5 separate regions of the Homo sapiens genome follow, and regions 1, 2, 3 and 4 are each linked to region 5. The links are contacts of gene promoters, found by promoter capture Hi-C in blood cells and fetal thymus (Javierre and others, 2016). All regions are on one chromosome and are shown on one strand. The core of a region is centred on a gene start or on the middle of the fragment in contact, and the rest is flanking DNA. Distances in the headings are between cores, read along the strand shown. Region 1 has its middle 34 kb from the start of TMEM132E-DT. Region 2 has its middle 78 kb from the start of CCL1. Region 3 has its middle 7.9 kb from the start of TMEM132E-DT. Region 4 has its middle 51 kb from the start of TMEM132E-DT. Region 5 holds the start of RAD51D (RAD51 paralog D).

Region 1 (2,700 bases), core at 170-2,669, 570 kb after region 5:
TGTCATAGAGGCAAGGTGACACACCCAAAGTCAAGCTCAAAGGGGCCAAGAAAGGACAAGACCTCAGTCCCTCTTTCTCCCATCCAATGCTGAGTTCACAGGCCACTTCTGGACCCAAGTGCCTGAGATAGGCTTCCTGACCCAAAGTCAGAGCTTTGCATTCCAGTGCCCCTACCCTCCAATACCCCAGTAGAGCCATTTCCAGAATGTTCAGAACCCAGGGACAGACTGGTCATCCCTCAGTAAAGCCTGGAAAGACAGAGACTTGGGAAAGTGGGGAGACAAGTGGCAGCTCCCTACCCTGGATGCTAGTTTTCACTGATGCTAATCAACAGTAACCCCTCAATTCTCATCCCCCCGGTCCTTAGAGCTTAGAGGAACTGGGTCTCCTCCTCCCTCTGTTTATACCCCAAACCCTTCAGGTTACCTTTCTGTGGCTTAATTTCCTCCTTCCATCAGCCCTCAATGGCTCTTCCAGCCTGGTTTGGCCTGGTTAAAATCATGTCCAGACTGGCTTGGAGTCCTCTCAGCTGGTGGCTGGATGGAGAGGGACTGATGTGCAGTCAGTGATCTGGATTCCAACTGGGGTTCTACCAAAACTAGCTGTGTGACTGTGGCCAAGTTATTGAACCTCTCTGAGCTTCTTAAATGGGAGATGCAGAGAATAAAATGAGACAAAACAAGTGAAGACCTAGGAAGGAGACACAGACCAGGTGCTGCACACATGTTGGATATGTTGCTTTCACCTTTTGAAAGGGCATTTCCCACATCTTACTTCACCATCTTCTTTGACTCCCCACCATGGTTGATCTCTTTAGAAATCCTCATAACCTGAAGATGGAGCCGGCTGGCATACCGCACAACTTAAGGGGGCACCATTTATCTTATTGAATAGCACATGTGAATGGCACATCCTGGAGTCAGGGGGCTCCATGTGAGGCCCCCGGCGGGGAAGTGGCATGGAAACCCTGGGTCTTTAGCATCTGATAACTCTCTTGGGCTTGTTTTTCCTGCTGAAGTTCCATTCCCTTCTCTTGGCAATGATACCTGTTATCTTGTCTGGTTCTTTATGTATTTTGAACTTTACTCTGAGAACTGAGATTTCAACTTGATTCCCATAATTTAGACTTCAGCTTTTGGAACAACTTCTGTCTTCACCAGTGTGTCCTGCTTTGATTTCCAAGCACGTAAGATTCTAGAGACACATTTTTTGGTCTATTTCAATTGCACATTCATAGGACTTGTAAATATAAAAGAGGCCCATAAACTGAGAGGTGCTGGGTAATGGCCTTTAAAACAGTAGGTTTTATATCAGAATCTGAACAGTGGTCCCTAAATCGGGCATCTGGGTTTGTGCCCTCCAAGTCTTCAAACCCAAGGTGAGATTCTGCGTGTGCTTCAAGATGTGTCTGGAGGATCATAATGCAGGAAATACAGAGCCCAGTTTTATGTTCATCTTTATCTTTATATTTTGAACCCTGGCCCTTCTACTTCCTGACTGTGTGACCTTACACACACTCCATCACTTCACTGAGGCTCAACTTTCTCATTTGTAAAATGAGGCTAATAATTACCCACTGGCATTATAGGGCTGGGGGACAGATATCTGAGATAATTTTTGTAAAATGGCTGCCATTCCATACACCCCAAGATGTTGCTTCTTGCCCCCTCCTCATATCACAGAAAAGAAAGTGGAAGCTCAGGGAGGTCACGTTGCCAAAGATTGTTCAGGCAGCTGGGATTCACATCCAGACCTGCCTGACTCTGAAGTTCATGCTTCACTTTCCAACCTAGCTTTATTGAAATAATTTTTAAAATTGTAGTAAAGTATACACAGCATAAAATTTACTACTTTAACCATTTTTGAGGGCGTAGTCCAGTGGCATGAAGTATATTCACATCGTTGTGCAACCATCACTACCATCCATCTCCAGAACTTTTTTATCTTCCCAGATTGAAACTCTGTCCCCATTATACAGTAACTCCCCATTCCTCCCTCCCCCAGCCCTGGTATCCACCTTTTTACTTTCTGTTGCTGTGAAGTTGACTATTCTGGGTACCTCATATTGGTGGAGTCATGCAATCTTTGTCCTTTTGCGACTGGCTTGTTTCACTTAGCTAATGTCATCAAGGTTCATCCATATTGCAGCATGTGTCAGAAATTCCTGTATTTTAAAAGGCTGAATAATTTTCTGTTGTATGGATGTACCACATTTTATTTACGTAAGGATATGTTTTCATGCACAAAATGAGCCTGGTACACAGTAGCTGCAAATCATGATATTATCATTATTGGTAATTATCATTCAGCTACTTGACTATTACAACATTTGCTGTAAAATTCAATTCTTCTAACAATATTAATAGTAGTAGTGACAATAATAAATGCTTACCAAATAGAGACATCCATCCTTTTTCCATCTGAGGATTTCCTTTGTCCAGTAGGCTCAAACTCTGGCATGCCTCAGAGACACACAGGGAGTTTGCTAACCACACAGATGCCCTAAACCATCCTGATGTTTTTATTGTCAACATTCTCCCTGAAGTCTGTTGTGCACCAAAGTTCTGAGCACCACTGTCCTGGTCTTTGAATCTTTCCATGGCCTACCATCCCTGACAGTGTCTGGAAAGATGCCACAAGACCAAGGTTGGGAGGATGTGTGGGCAGAGGAGTGGAAGCCCGGAGGCTCCTGGGCAGCT
Region 2 (2,851 bases), core at 107-2,606, 680 kb after region 5:
CATGTCAATAACATGCATAAAGCACTTGTCATAGAGTAGCTACACTGTAGCAATTGTGATTAGCTCCACCCCCACGCTCAGGAGGGTTCTTGCCAGTCCTCTGTTGCTTTATAGCTCCATCCTTTGGCTGTCACAGGCTCATGACAGGTGTCTATCCCTCCCACTCCAGAGTGCTGAGGAGGGGATCGCAGAGGCATGATTGCTGCCAGCCCCAGTCTGGCACCAAGGGTGGCACCCTTAGGTTCCAGCAGCCTCCCGTCACAGTGGGTAGGGCCGGAGGAGAAGAGGCCAGCACTGTCACTTGAAACACAAGGAATTGCAGGCCCAGATAGGAAACTGTCTAGCCCAAGGTCATCCAGCAAATTGCTGGCAGGTCGTTTTACCCATTTTAGCAGATGGCTAAAGCCTGCCTCTTGTATTTATTTTAAGCCTATCTTTTTAATGACTGAGAACCAGGAGATGACGCCAATGGTGACATTGATGAGGCAGAGAAGGAAAGGGGTTGTCAGCATGGAGGTGGAGTAACCCAGCGCTGGCCTGGGGGTCAGGACACCTGGACTCTGCCCTGAGCTCTCTCCAGTCCTGGCTGCTCTGTGACCTTGGGCTGATCCCTTCTCTTCCCGGACCTTTGTTCCCTCCTCAGTGAAATGGGGATGGTAATCACTGCCCCGCTGACCTCTCAGGCTGGTGTTGAGGATTGTCTGAGATGATGGATCTGAAAGTGCTTTGTAAGCAGGAAAGCGTGAAGCAAATGTAGGAGATTATTAACATTAATATTAATGAACTCGCTCATGGTTGGCTACTGGCCACAGAAAAGAGAATGTTGGGAGTCTGGGGAAGATGAACTTTTCCAAGCCTCTGTAGGGTTTGCAGAGGAGTCGGGGATGACAATTCTCTGCATGATCATTTCTTAAACTCCTGTAGATACAAGTACTTGAGGAAAAATCTCTTGAGATTTTCAGCCAGGGAAACTGGTAATGGGTGCAGAGTGTACTAGGAGCAGGTATAGGAGGGGCCTCTCTCCCCCTGGCAGGGGCAGTGACAGAGAACACTCACTTTCTTATCTAAAGACTGATCTCTGGGCTCAGGAGGCATCTAGGATTGAGGGCTGAGCTGCCTTCTTGGACCCCACTGAAGGTAGTGGGGTTTCCTTCTCTATTCACATCCCCTCTACTTTCCTTAGAAGACTAACTCATGCTTCCTTGGGAAAATTGCCGGGTGGAAGAGATGAGGACAAAGGCCGGCTCTCGTTCCCTCTCCCTCCTCCTCCTCTCCCCATACACCCGCAAGTGATTGAGCCTTGCTTCTATAGCTGTAGCTGTGCATAGAGTTCATTTGCATCCTGGGTCATCCATCCATCCATCTGTCCATCTGTCCATCCATCCATCCATCCATCCATCCATCCATCCCTCCATCCATCTGTCCATCCAGTCATCCATCCAACCATATGTTCAGTAAGGCTTTGTTAAAGTCTAAGATATGCCAGGACCTGGACCCATAGGTGAATGAGACCCTGTCCCTGTGGTTAGGGCTCAAAGGCTGCTGCAGGATCCAGATGACGGACCTGCAAACAGGCCACTATACTACCTGCCAAGATTTGGTGCTATGGGAACATACTGGAGCCTGGGGATGAGGGGAGAGTTGTAGGAGAGATTTCCTGGGGGAAGTTGTGTCTAAGCTGAACCTCAAGGGAGGATGTGCATGCTCATGCCCTCATTACTTAGCTCACATGGAAAATTCCAGTTTCTTGTCTCATAGAAGAAGGAGGCGTAGATCCGTGAGGCTTGGAGGAACTCTGCTTGTGGAGAGAGTCCCAAGGAGATGCAGTACCTGATGATATAAAGCCTTCCACAGCTTCTGCCCGTAGAGCTTGGGAGTCAGAATCCCAAGAGGGACTTTGAACACCAGCTCTGCCTCAAACAGACTGTGCCCTCAGGCCTCCTCCCTAAAGATGGGAGCAGATCGCAAGGATCTAAGAGCTGCTTGTGAACAGCACTCCAGAAAGGGTAAAACATATTGTCATTCCTTATCATTGTGCTGTTCAGCTGCTGGAGGTGTTTTGGTATACCCAGCAGGACTGAGGCTTGGAGAGCTCTGCTGGAGTTTCTTTCAATATTTGTTTAATTTGTACCAATCATGAGGTTTAAGAATGTGAAGATCTACAAGATGTCTTTGCATTATATGTGCAGTGTGTGTGTGTGTGTGTTTGTGTGTGTGTGAGAGAGAGAGAGAAGAGAGAGAGAGAGAGAATGAGGCCTGAATGCTCACTTAGGACTGCAAGGAGCTCTGTGTGTGTGAAGTCCCCAGTGCACATATGCAGACTGGTGTGCACATACCCACACACTTCCTTCTGTCCCACAGCATCACCACACCCTTGACAATTCATGTTACCCCATCCCCTGACTGCCCTGGAGTAGCCCCAACTCACACTCACTTTGTTTCCAGGTATCTATCTCATTGGCACCTCAGAGCTAACATCCTGTTCCATGTAGTACAAACTTAAATGCAGACTTAGCAAATTACCCATCTATGCAAATGGCCCTATTCTAAGTAGACTTTGATGAGTGCTAGAATAAGGAGCCCAAATTCTGCACAGTGTGAGGGAGAGAATATTCTGGGGGGATTCTGGAGGGAGAGAGCATTTTAGCTGATTGCTGAAGGATGTTGGGTTTTTGCATGAGCAAAAATAAAGAGGCAGGATCGGGTATGGTGAGCGTTGGGAATGGCAGTGCTGAGAGCGGGTAGAGGGGGTTGTGCGGTGAGGGCTGTTGACGGTTGGTTGGGTGCCAGCTGGTGCCAGGTGCTGTGATGGTCATTCCATAAGGCCAGCAGCACCCAGAGAGTGGCTGGC
Region 3 (2,806 bases), core at 31-2,530, 550 kb after region 5:
GAGTATTCAGTTAATGGCTATTGACTAAGTGAATTATTAATCACCTACTGTGTGTTTGGAGCTATGCTAGATGAATGAGATGGCCTCTGCCCTCAAGGAGTTTGCCATTGTGTGGGAGAGGGAAGTGGGCAGACACATAGGATTATGATGCACAGTGGCAGTGGGTGCTGCCCTGGAAGGAAGCACAGGAGCCCTGGGGCAGGAACGAGGGGCATCTAGTTCAGCCTAGGACATGAGTGCTGCAGGATATGAGAAAGCTTCTTGAAGGAGGTGACTTTGAGCTACACTAAGGGAAGGACAAGCTGGTTTGGGGAAGTGGGGAGAAGAAAGGGAGGGGAGGAGGCTGCTTCAAGAACAGAAAATAACATTTTAAAGCCTGGATTCAGGGAGGACATGGTGTGATCAGGAGACAGTGAGTGTTTCTGCATGGCTGGGGCATTTGAGAGCTGGGGCAAAGCTAGGAAAGGGGCTGGAGAGGAAGCAGGCCCATCGCCTCTGTGCCCAAAGATACCTGTCTGTGGTGACATGCACGCTCGTGGTTACTATACTCAGTTATACGACTTCACACGTTTGGGGCCAAAGACACTGGGAGGCTTATGAAACATTTTATCAGTGTGTTTGTGCACAGTCCCTAACCCCGACCCCACACATTTGTGCACAGTCCCTGACCCCGACCCCACATTAATGCCCAACATTATTTGGGCAGCTCAACTCTCTGCAAAATGGGTTACCTTCTGTACTGGCTGCTTACAGATCTTTTTACTCCCATTTCCCTAGAATCTCTACCTTTAGTTCCTCTTCAGGCATCACACTTCCTCCATCCCCCACCCCGTGGCCAGCCCTGACTCTAGCTGTCCCCTTTCTCTTCCTCCCTCTGGCCCACGTGGACAGTAAGCTAGGACCACCCTGGGCACCCAGCCAAGGGAGGATTTGGACTTGAGCCATGCAGGCTGGGCTCCGCTGTCCCCTCCCTCTCTTTTCCTCCCCACCCCCATACAGCTTCATTTAATTCCAGGGCAAAGCACTTGCCTAATGCGAGCCAGAGAAAGAGAGCAAGAGCCAGAGACGGAAATACAGAGACGAAGAGAGCAAGAGCCAGAGACGGAAATACAGAGACGAAGAGAGCAAGGACACTTTCTTTGCCACAGCCCAGCAGCCAAACGGCAGCGAACTCTGATGTGGTTACAAGCTCCTCAACTTCTTGTTTGTTGGCCAACTTGGCTGCCAGGTACAAGTGGGAGAGGAAGAGCCGGGGGCCCAACTTCTCTCCATGGCCTCCTGATCAGCTGCCCGTGACCTCCCAGAGTTGTTGAGCCAGCTCTGCCTGGCTCCTGGGGTTGGCAGTGCCCAGGATTCCTGAACTGGGCAGGAGGGCCAATTGGGCCTGCTGGGAGGGTGAGAGAAGGAGCCAGGCATGCTGAGGACTGCAGAGGAAGCCGGGTCTACTCTGAAGAGGGGAAGCCCTCACATCATAGACATATGGCCAGATGGGCCATTAGAGGCCATCCTGGTAACCTGTGAGCATTACAGGGGGAATGTGAGGCCCACAGCAGTGGGTATCTTGCCTGATTTCACACAGGAGCCCATTTCAGAGTTGAGATCAAAACCCAGGTTCTCTTTCCAGATCCTTTAAGATGGGAATCCTGCTTTAGGTTCCCACCCTACCTCCCAAATCTGATTCTCAGCTCACTTACGTCTTCCTCTTGCTAAAAACCCGTCTATGGCTCCACAATGCCCACAGGATTAATCCCAAATTCCCCAGATTTACATTTAGGGTTTGACACATATTTTCCAGCCCACCCTCCCCACTTTTAGCCATTCTTCCCCAAAAAGTCATGCCTTTCTCTGCCGTGGTTCCCTTTTGCTCTGCTGGAATGCCTGTTCCTCCTTCCCCATCTCTTCTTGGGGCCCTTCTGTAAAGGCTCTTTCATCCACCCCAGGTGGAATCAATCACTGTCTGCCTCATTGTTAGAATCCATCTGATCTTTGTTTAGCCTTCCTCTCATTCACGTATAAAATCTGTAGGGACTAATGTGGTTTGGATGTTTGTCCCCTCAAATCTCATGTTGAAATATAATCCCCAGTGTTGGAGGTGGGGCCTGGTGGGAGGGGTCATGGGGGGTGGATCCCTCATGAATAGCTTGTTGCTGTCTTTGAGATCATGAGTGAGTTCTTGCGAGATCTGAGTTACATGAGATCTGATTGTTTAAGAGTGTGGCACCTCCCACTTCTCTCTCTTGCTCATGCTCTCACCATGTGATGCCAGCCCCTCCCTTTTGCCTTCCTCCATGATTGGAAGCTTTCTGAGGCCCTCACCAGAAGCAGATGGCAGTGCCATGCTTCCTGTGTAGCCTGCAGAGCCAGAAGCCAATTAAACCTCTTTTCTTTATAAATTACCTCAGGTACTTCTTTATAGCAATGCAATAATTGATTAATAGAGGGACACAGATTACATTTTGTTCATCTTTAAATCTTCCATAACATTGAACACAGCGGCACACATGGGGTAAATGTTCCTAGACATTTACTGAACAAACGAATGTATGGCAAAAGAGGCAGTAGTTCAGATACCACAGCCCTGCACTCTCAGTTACTTTCTATCCAAAGCCTCTTTGAAGCTTCTCTATCATCTTGAGTGGTGTGTAAATATTATCTACACTTAGAGAGGAAGCTGACTGAACCTCCGAGAGGGAAAGTCACTTGTTCAAGGTTATGTAGCTAGAAACTGGCAGAGCTGGGATTTGATCTCAAGTCTATTTGTTTTTAAAGCCTGTGTTTAATTCACCAGCTCACAGCACATCTGATT
Region 4 (2,700 bases), core at 82-2,581, 590 kb after region 5:
TGGCTTCTCCTTGTTCTATAATGTTGGCCAAATGACTTTGATCTCCAGGCCAGGCTGACCACCCTTTCACCTTCAAACCAGAGAGAACAATGCCCAGAGCCTTCTCAAAAGCAGACAAGGAGAAGGATAGTAAGTACACAAGTCTGCAAGGTCCTTCAGAGCTAAGATGTCCTATTTTCAATGCAATAGAATCATTTAACTGATAAACACGGAGGCAATGTCAAGATGGCAATAAATTGCCTCGCTATCAGGCAAGGCCTTTGTGTAACGTTCAAAAGAAACTAATTAAAGAAATTTTTCTTTAAAGTATATTTGACCCAGACATTTCTACATCGGCCCAGGATGCCAATCCAGTTTGAAAACTTGGTGTAAAGCTTGCATTATTAATGCACACTTGAAAAATGATATTGCATATTTGCCTTAGAACATTTTGGGAATGGGGGAGGATTAAATGTATCTCTTGAGGATTTGATCAGGGAAGGAAGTGGAGGGTGGGGTGATGCCAGAGAAGGCCAGAGAAGGTGTGCATCCTTGTAAAACATCTATCATAAAACTTGGGTCTTTATCGGAACTCCAGCGTTCAGATGACTGAGACAAATTTTAAAGAGAATTTTTTCACATCTAATACATAAAACATGATCTCCACCATCTCTCTCTCTTTAAACAGCTTTGTTAAATAGTCAGTTGAACGACATCTCCCTTGCTGCCATGAATCCATTAGGGAATCATATTTACATAGGGGATTTTACTTGACAATCTCAAATCACTTGGAAAACATCAACCTTCTCGGCCTCTCAGCACCCTTTGGGGAGCTGTATGCATACTCCTGGTTTATTTCTCGCACCCTCGTGTGGTGACAGTGGCTCCCAGAAAAGTGGACTTGGCAGAACCAGTGCCCCAACTAGTGCTTTCCAGGATACCTCTCTCAGGGCTGCCCCCTGACTCCCACTTGCTGGATTGCTTGGACCCATGGAGATGGGCATGGGAATGGGGCTGGTGCAGCTCCTGCCATCCTCATCCTCATCACTCAAATGTACACTGAGCAGGCATGGAGACTCCAACAAGGAAAGAAGCTGGCATCTCAACAATGACGGCAACAGTAAGAGTAGCTCATGTGTATTGCTTAATATGTGACCGGCAGCATGTTAAACACTTGGTGTGGGGTTGCCCAGTAAATCCTGGTGAGCCTGCGAGGTGCTTCTAGTGTTACCTTTACAGCATCGATGAAGAAGTTGAGGCCTAGAGAGCTGAAATGATGGGCTCAATTCCCACTCTTAGGAAGACAGTCTCAAGCCCTCATTTGTCTGTTTCAGTTCACACTCATCTACACTATCATGATAGACCAAAGGGCATTATATGTACAGAAGGAGTTTCAGGAAGGGAGAAAATGGAACTTGAAGCGCTTTGTCATATATGTATTCAATGTGTGCATTCAGCAAATGCCTCCAGCTTTGGCTCCCTTCCATTCCATCCTAAAAGGCTGAGATAATTTTCTTCTTTTCACTTAAAATAGCCTCTATCTAGATATGTGAAGCAGCTAGCACGGTGGCTTGCACACAGTATATGGTCAATGACGTGACTTCCCTTTTCCATTTGTAGTCCATGCACACATGCTGACACTCCCTAATTCCATGAATCGATATATTTCTTAAAACGATGCTCAGAGGAGGATTCTGAGAACACAGATGGGACAGGACTATGGCCGTGGTCACTTTAAACGTGGTTTGCCACGTCAGCAGAAGCCATTGAAAGCAGAGGTAAGGTTTCAAGGAAGGAGAGGGGCCTGTGAGGCAGGTGGAAATGGACAGAGTGGTGGATGGGCAGCAGAGTCGAGCAAGGTGAGGACGGATTTGATATTCTGCTGTGTGAAAGCAGGCAGGGCTGATGCTGAGGAAGAAAATCACCGATAGCCTAAGGGCCATCCTGTGTAGCTGTGCAGGTTGTGCACTGCAGAACTTTAGGGGGCGCTGTTCTTACCACCCGGGGAAGGGAGGCCCTAAGCGGACCCTGCACAGTCAGCAGGGGCCTAGGGAAGGACCTTGCCTGCAACATTTACTGAGTACTCATAAGAGTGGAAGCATGTGTGGTGGGGAAAGGGTTTTTAAGTTGGGCCTTTTAGTTAGAATTTTGACAGATGGAAAACAGGGAGGGGCAAAGCCCAGGTGGCTGACTCCTATTCGTCCTTTAAGGCTGAACTCATGCCTCCCCTGTGCTGGGACCCGTTCTGTGGCAGCAGCTGCGCCGCCCTTTTCCTCCTACAGCACCGGACCTACCTCACCCTAAGCTTCACCACCCCTCCCTGAAAGGGTTCATTCCCAAGTTCGTGGAGTCTCATGGTCCCCCTCCCAACCCCCCCGAAACCCACCATCCCGCCTCCACTACCCTGTAAGCTCCTAGAAAGCAGGAACTATGTTTTTCACTCCAGTAGGCAGGGATTAGCAGTGGTGCTAGCACATAGTAGGTCCTGGCACGCAGTAGGAGTTGAATGAACCAAGTAACCAATGTATAAGTACAGGAAGCTGGTGTGGGGGCCAGTCATGCGGGCAGGATGGCCAGTGTACAGCCAGGAGATGCCAAGGTCCCCAGAAGGGGCAGTGGACCGGGATGAGAACAGGCAGAGCTCAGGGACCTCCCGGCTGTGGGCAGCAGGGAGGGTGGAGAGAAACCCAAGGAATGTCAGCCACCCCACGTGGAGCTGGG
Region 5 (2,700 bases), core at 201-2,700:
GGGAAGGAGAATAAGGATGGTGAGAGATGGGCGTGGGATGTAGAGGATGGTGGTGTGGCCCTGAGAGATAGGCAGTATTGGAAAGTGTCTGCTGGGGAGGGAAACTTTGTCCGTAGAAGCTAAGGCTCTCTATCCTGAAACCATAGGCTGCAGACTCCACTGTGCCCAGTCGGTTAGTGAAAGGGAAAGCCCACATGGTTCATAGGGGTTCATGGCTCACATATGATCAGACTTCACTGCTAGAATTCTAAATGTGCCACACCCACACTCCCAAGTACTTTCCTGTGTGGAGTGACAATGGTGGCAGTTGCAGTGGGATACAGAGATGGGCCACACATGATCTCTGCTCTCAGAGAAACCACCTTACAGTAGGAAAACATGTACACAGCTTCAGGGGTGGGGAGGGGGGCTGTTAGAAAGCACTGGCTTTGCAGAGTCAGATGTGGATGTGAAGTCCAGCCCTGTGCCGCCTAGCTGGGTGACCTTTGGCAAGTGATTTAACCTCACTGAACCTCAGTTTCTTCATTGGTGAAACAGGGATAAAAAATAGCGCCTCCCTCACAGATTTGTGATGAGATAACCATGTAAAGTTTTATTTCTTCCTATGGATGAGGCAAAGCAAAGGACATTTAAAAATACCAAATCATATCTTTTTGTGTGTGTTCTATATAACCAAGGTTTCTTGCCCTTAAAAAAAATAAAAAATAAAATAAAAAATAGAGGCCGGGCACGGTGGCTCACACCTGTAATCCCCGCACTTCGGGAGACCAAGGCAGGAGGATTGTTTGAGCCCAGTAGTTCGAGACCTGTGTGGGCAACATGGTGTAACCCCATTTTGTAGAGGCGAAACCTCTACAAAAAATACAAAAATTAGCTGGGCAAGGTGGCACGTGACTGTAGTCCCAGCTACTCAGGAGGCTGAGGCAGGAGGATCGCTTGAACCCAGGAGGTCGAGGCTGCAAAGCTGAGATCTCACCAGGGCACTCCAGCCTGGGCGGCCGATCGAGACCCTGTCTCAACCAAAACAAAACAAACTTTTGAAAAATAGACGCAGGTGCCCTCTGGATGCTTTGCTGCTTCTTGACACCTGTCGTATAATCTGTAATGATGTGATTTCTGCGATTCCTTTTCATTGTCTGTCTTTCCCTTGCTCACAGTAAGCTCCCTGGGGGTAAGGGCGGGTCGTCTTGTGTCGCATTTTGTCTCCAGCGGAGATCCGTTCCGTTTGGAACGGAAGCTGGCGCACAGAAGGCTCTTTAGAAGGTCGGTGTGTGTGTTGCGGCAGAAGGTAGAGGCCGAATGTGGCCGCGGGTGGCGTGTTGAGCGCGGAGGGGGTCGTGGGACTCGGGAACCTGTGCAGGCGGTGGAGAGGGGCGCAGCGGCTCTGCCCCGTGCGGCCCGCAGATGGCGCTGCAGGCCAGGTCCTCGCCGCGCGCCAGCCTGGAACCCGGAAGCGGCAGCGCGGCGCGACCCGGCGGGCGGGCTCTGGGCGCGGGAATCCCGGCGGATCCCGGGCGGGCGGATGACCCCCAGCCCTACCCTTGGTGCCGCCTCCTCCTCTCTCCTTTCTCCTCCGGCAGCCAGCGCGCCTGTGTCCTCTCTAGGAAGGGGTAGGGGAGGGGCGTCTGGAGAGGACCCCCCGCGAATGCCCACGTGACGTGCAGTCCCCCTGGGGCTGTTCCGGCCTGCGGGGAACATGGGCGTGCTCAGGGTCGGACTGTGCCCTGGCCTTACCGAGGAGATGATCCAGCTTCTCAGGAGCCACAGGATCAAGACAGGTGACCGGGTGTGCGCGTGCCAGGGAGCCGCGCGGGCCTCGCACAACCTGGGCAGGCCCCGAGGGCTGGCGCACTGCCCTGGCATACCTGCAGGGCGCTTCCCCTCCATTCCTAGAGGGCCGCGCTTCTGGAGAGGCTCAGGAAGGGTGGGCGTGGGGAGCCAAGCTCTAAAACAGGGTAGAGATTCCTACTGTGTGCAGGGCACCGCGCCGGCTCCTGCAGCTTTGTTATTTCACACTGGCCTCCTGAGACGGCCTGCCGGGGGGTAGAATTGACACCCCATTTGACAGATGAGGAAAAACCAAGTGTGGGAGGCCCCAGTCCTCTCTGCCAATCCGCTATACGTGTTTTGTTTTCAGTGGTGGACCTGGTTTCTGCAGACCTGGAAGAGGTAGCTCAGAAATGTGGCTTGTCTTACAAGGTGAGCTCCTGATCTCCACATTCCAAACCTGAGTGTCTTTTTAAAAAGTCCATCCCAAGCCAGCTGGGCGCGGTGGCTCATGCCTGTAATCCCAGCACTTTGGGAGGCCGAGGCGGGTGGGTCACTTGGAGTCAGAAGTCAGGAGTTCGAGACCATCCAGGCCAACATGGTGAAACCCTGTCCCTACTAAAAATACAAAAATTAGCTGGGTGTGGTGGCCCACGCCTACAATCCCAGCTACTCGGGAGGCTGAGGAAGGAGAATCATTTGAGCCCGGGAGGCAGAGGTTGCAGTGAGCCGAGATCGTGCTACTGCACTCCAATCTGGGCGACAGAGTGAGACCCTGTCTGAAACAACAACAATAACAAAAGTCCATCCCAAGCCAAAGGGAGCAGAGGGTTCTCAGATATTGAGAAGTAGGGTGAATGACACCCTGGGATGCCAGCTTCTACGGGCAATTTGTTGCTGAGCAGTCTGGGGCCCTTTGGCAGGCCCTGGTTG

The links. Contacts are between HindIII fragments. The CHiCAGO score rates a contact against its expected background, and 5 or more counts as called.
Region 1: a contact is called between a fragment that was not itself captured here and the fragment with the promoter of RAD51D in region 5, in 6 of 17 cell types (neutrophils, monocytes, total CD8 T cells and 3 more). The highest score is 11.0, in neutrophils.
Region 2: a contact is called between a fragment that was not itself captured here and the fragment with the promoter of RAD51D in region 5, in 1 of 17 cell types (M2 macrophages). The highest score is 5.3, in M2 macrophages.
Region 3: a contact is called between a fragment that was not itself captured here and the fragment with the promoter of RAD51D in region 5, in 1 of 17 cell types (neutrophils). The highest score is 6.0, in neutrophils.
Region 4: a fragment that was not itself captured here is called in contact with the fragment with the promoter of RAD51D in region 5 in 2 of 17 cell types (naive B cells and monocytes); the score reaches 5.8 in naive B cells.

What each region holds. Positions count from the first base shown.
Region 1 is chr17:34,544,495-34,547,194 of GRCh38, reverse strand. No RefSeq gene overlaps it. Among named protein-coding and RNA genes, the nearest start is that of TMEM132E-DT, 34 kb to the left of the region's middle. The HindIII fragment of the contact is 3,877 bases long and covers 1-2,700 here.
Region 2 is chr17:34,440,286-34,443,136 of GRCh38, reverse strand. No RefSeq gene overlaps it. Among named protein-coding and RNA genes, the nearest start is that of CCL1, 78 kb to the right of the region's middle. The HindIII fragment of the contact is 5,517 bases long and covers 1-2,851 here.
Region 3 is chr17:34,570,039-34,572,844 of GRCh38, reverse strand. No RefSeq gene overlaps it. Among named protein-coding and RNA genes, the nearest start is that of TMEM132E-DT, 7.9 kb to the left of the region's middle. The HindIII fragment of the contact is 2,042 bases long and covers 260-2,301 here.
Region 4 is chr17:34,527,312-34,530,011 of GRCh38, reverse strand. No RefSeq gene overlaps it. Among named protein-coding and RNA genes, the nearest start is that of TMEM132E-DT, 51 kb to the left of the region's middle. The HindIII fragment of the contact is 1,910 bases long and covers 377-2,286 here.
Region 5 is chr17:35,118,610-35,121,309 of GRCh38, reverse strand. RAD51D (RAD51 paralog D) reads left to right here and starts at 1,450. Exons shown (of 10, transcript NM_002878.4): 1 at 1,450-1,778; 2 at 2,138-2,199; 3 at 2,691-2,700. The coding sequence starts at 1,697. It overlaps RAD51L3-RFFL (RAD51L3-RFFL readthrough), which reads left to right. Exons shown (of 7, transcript NR_037714.1): 1 at 1-19. RefSeq lists an enhancer at 1,118-1,177 and a silencer at 1,388-1,587. The HindIII fragment of the contact is 14,701 bases long and covers 1-2,700 here.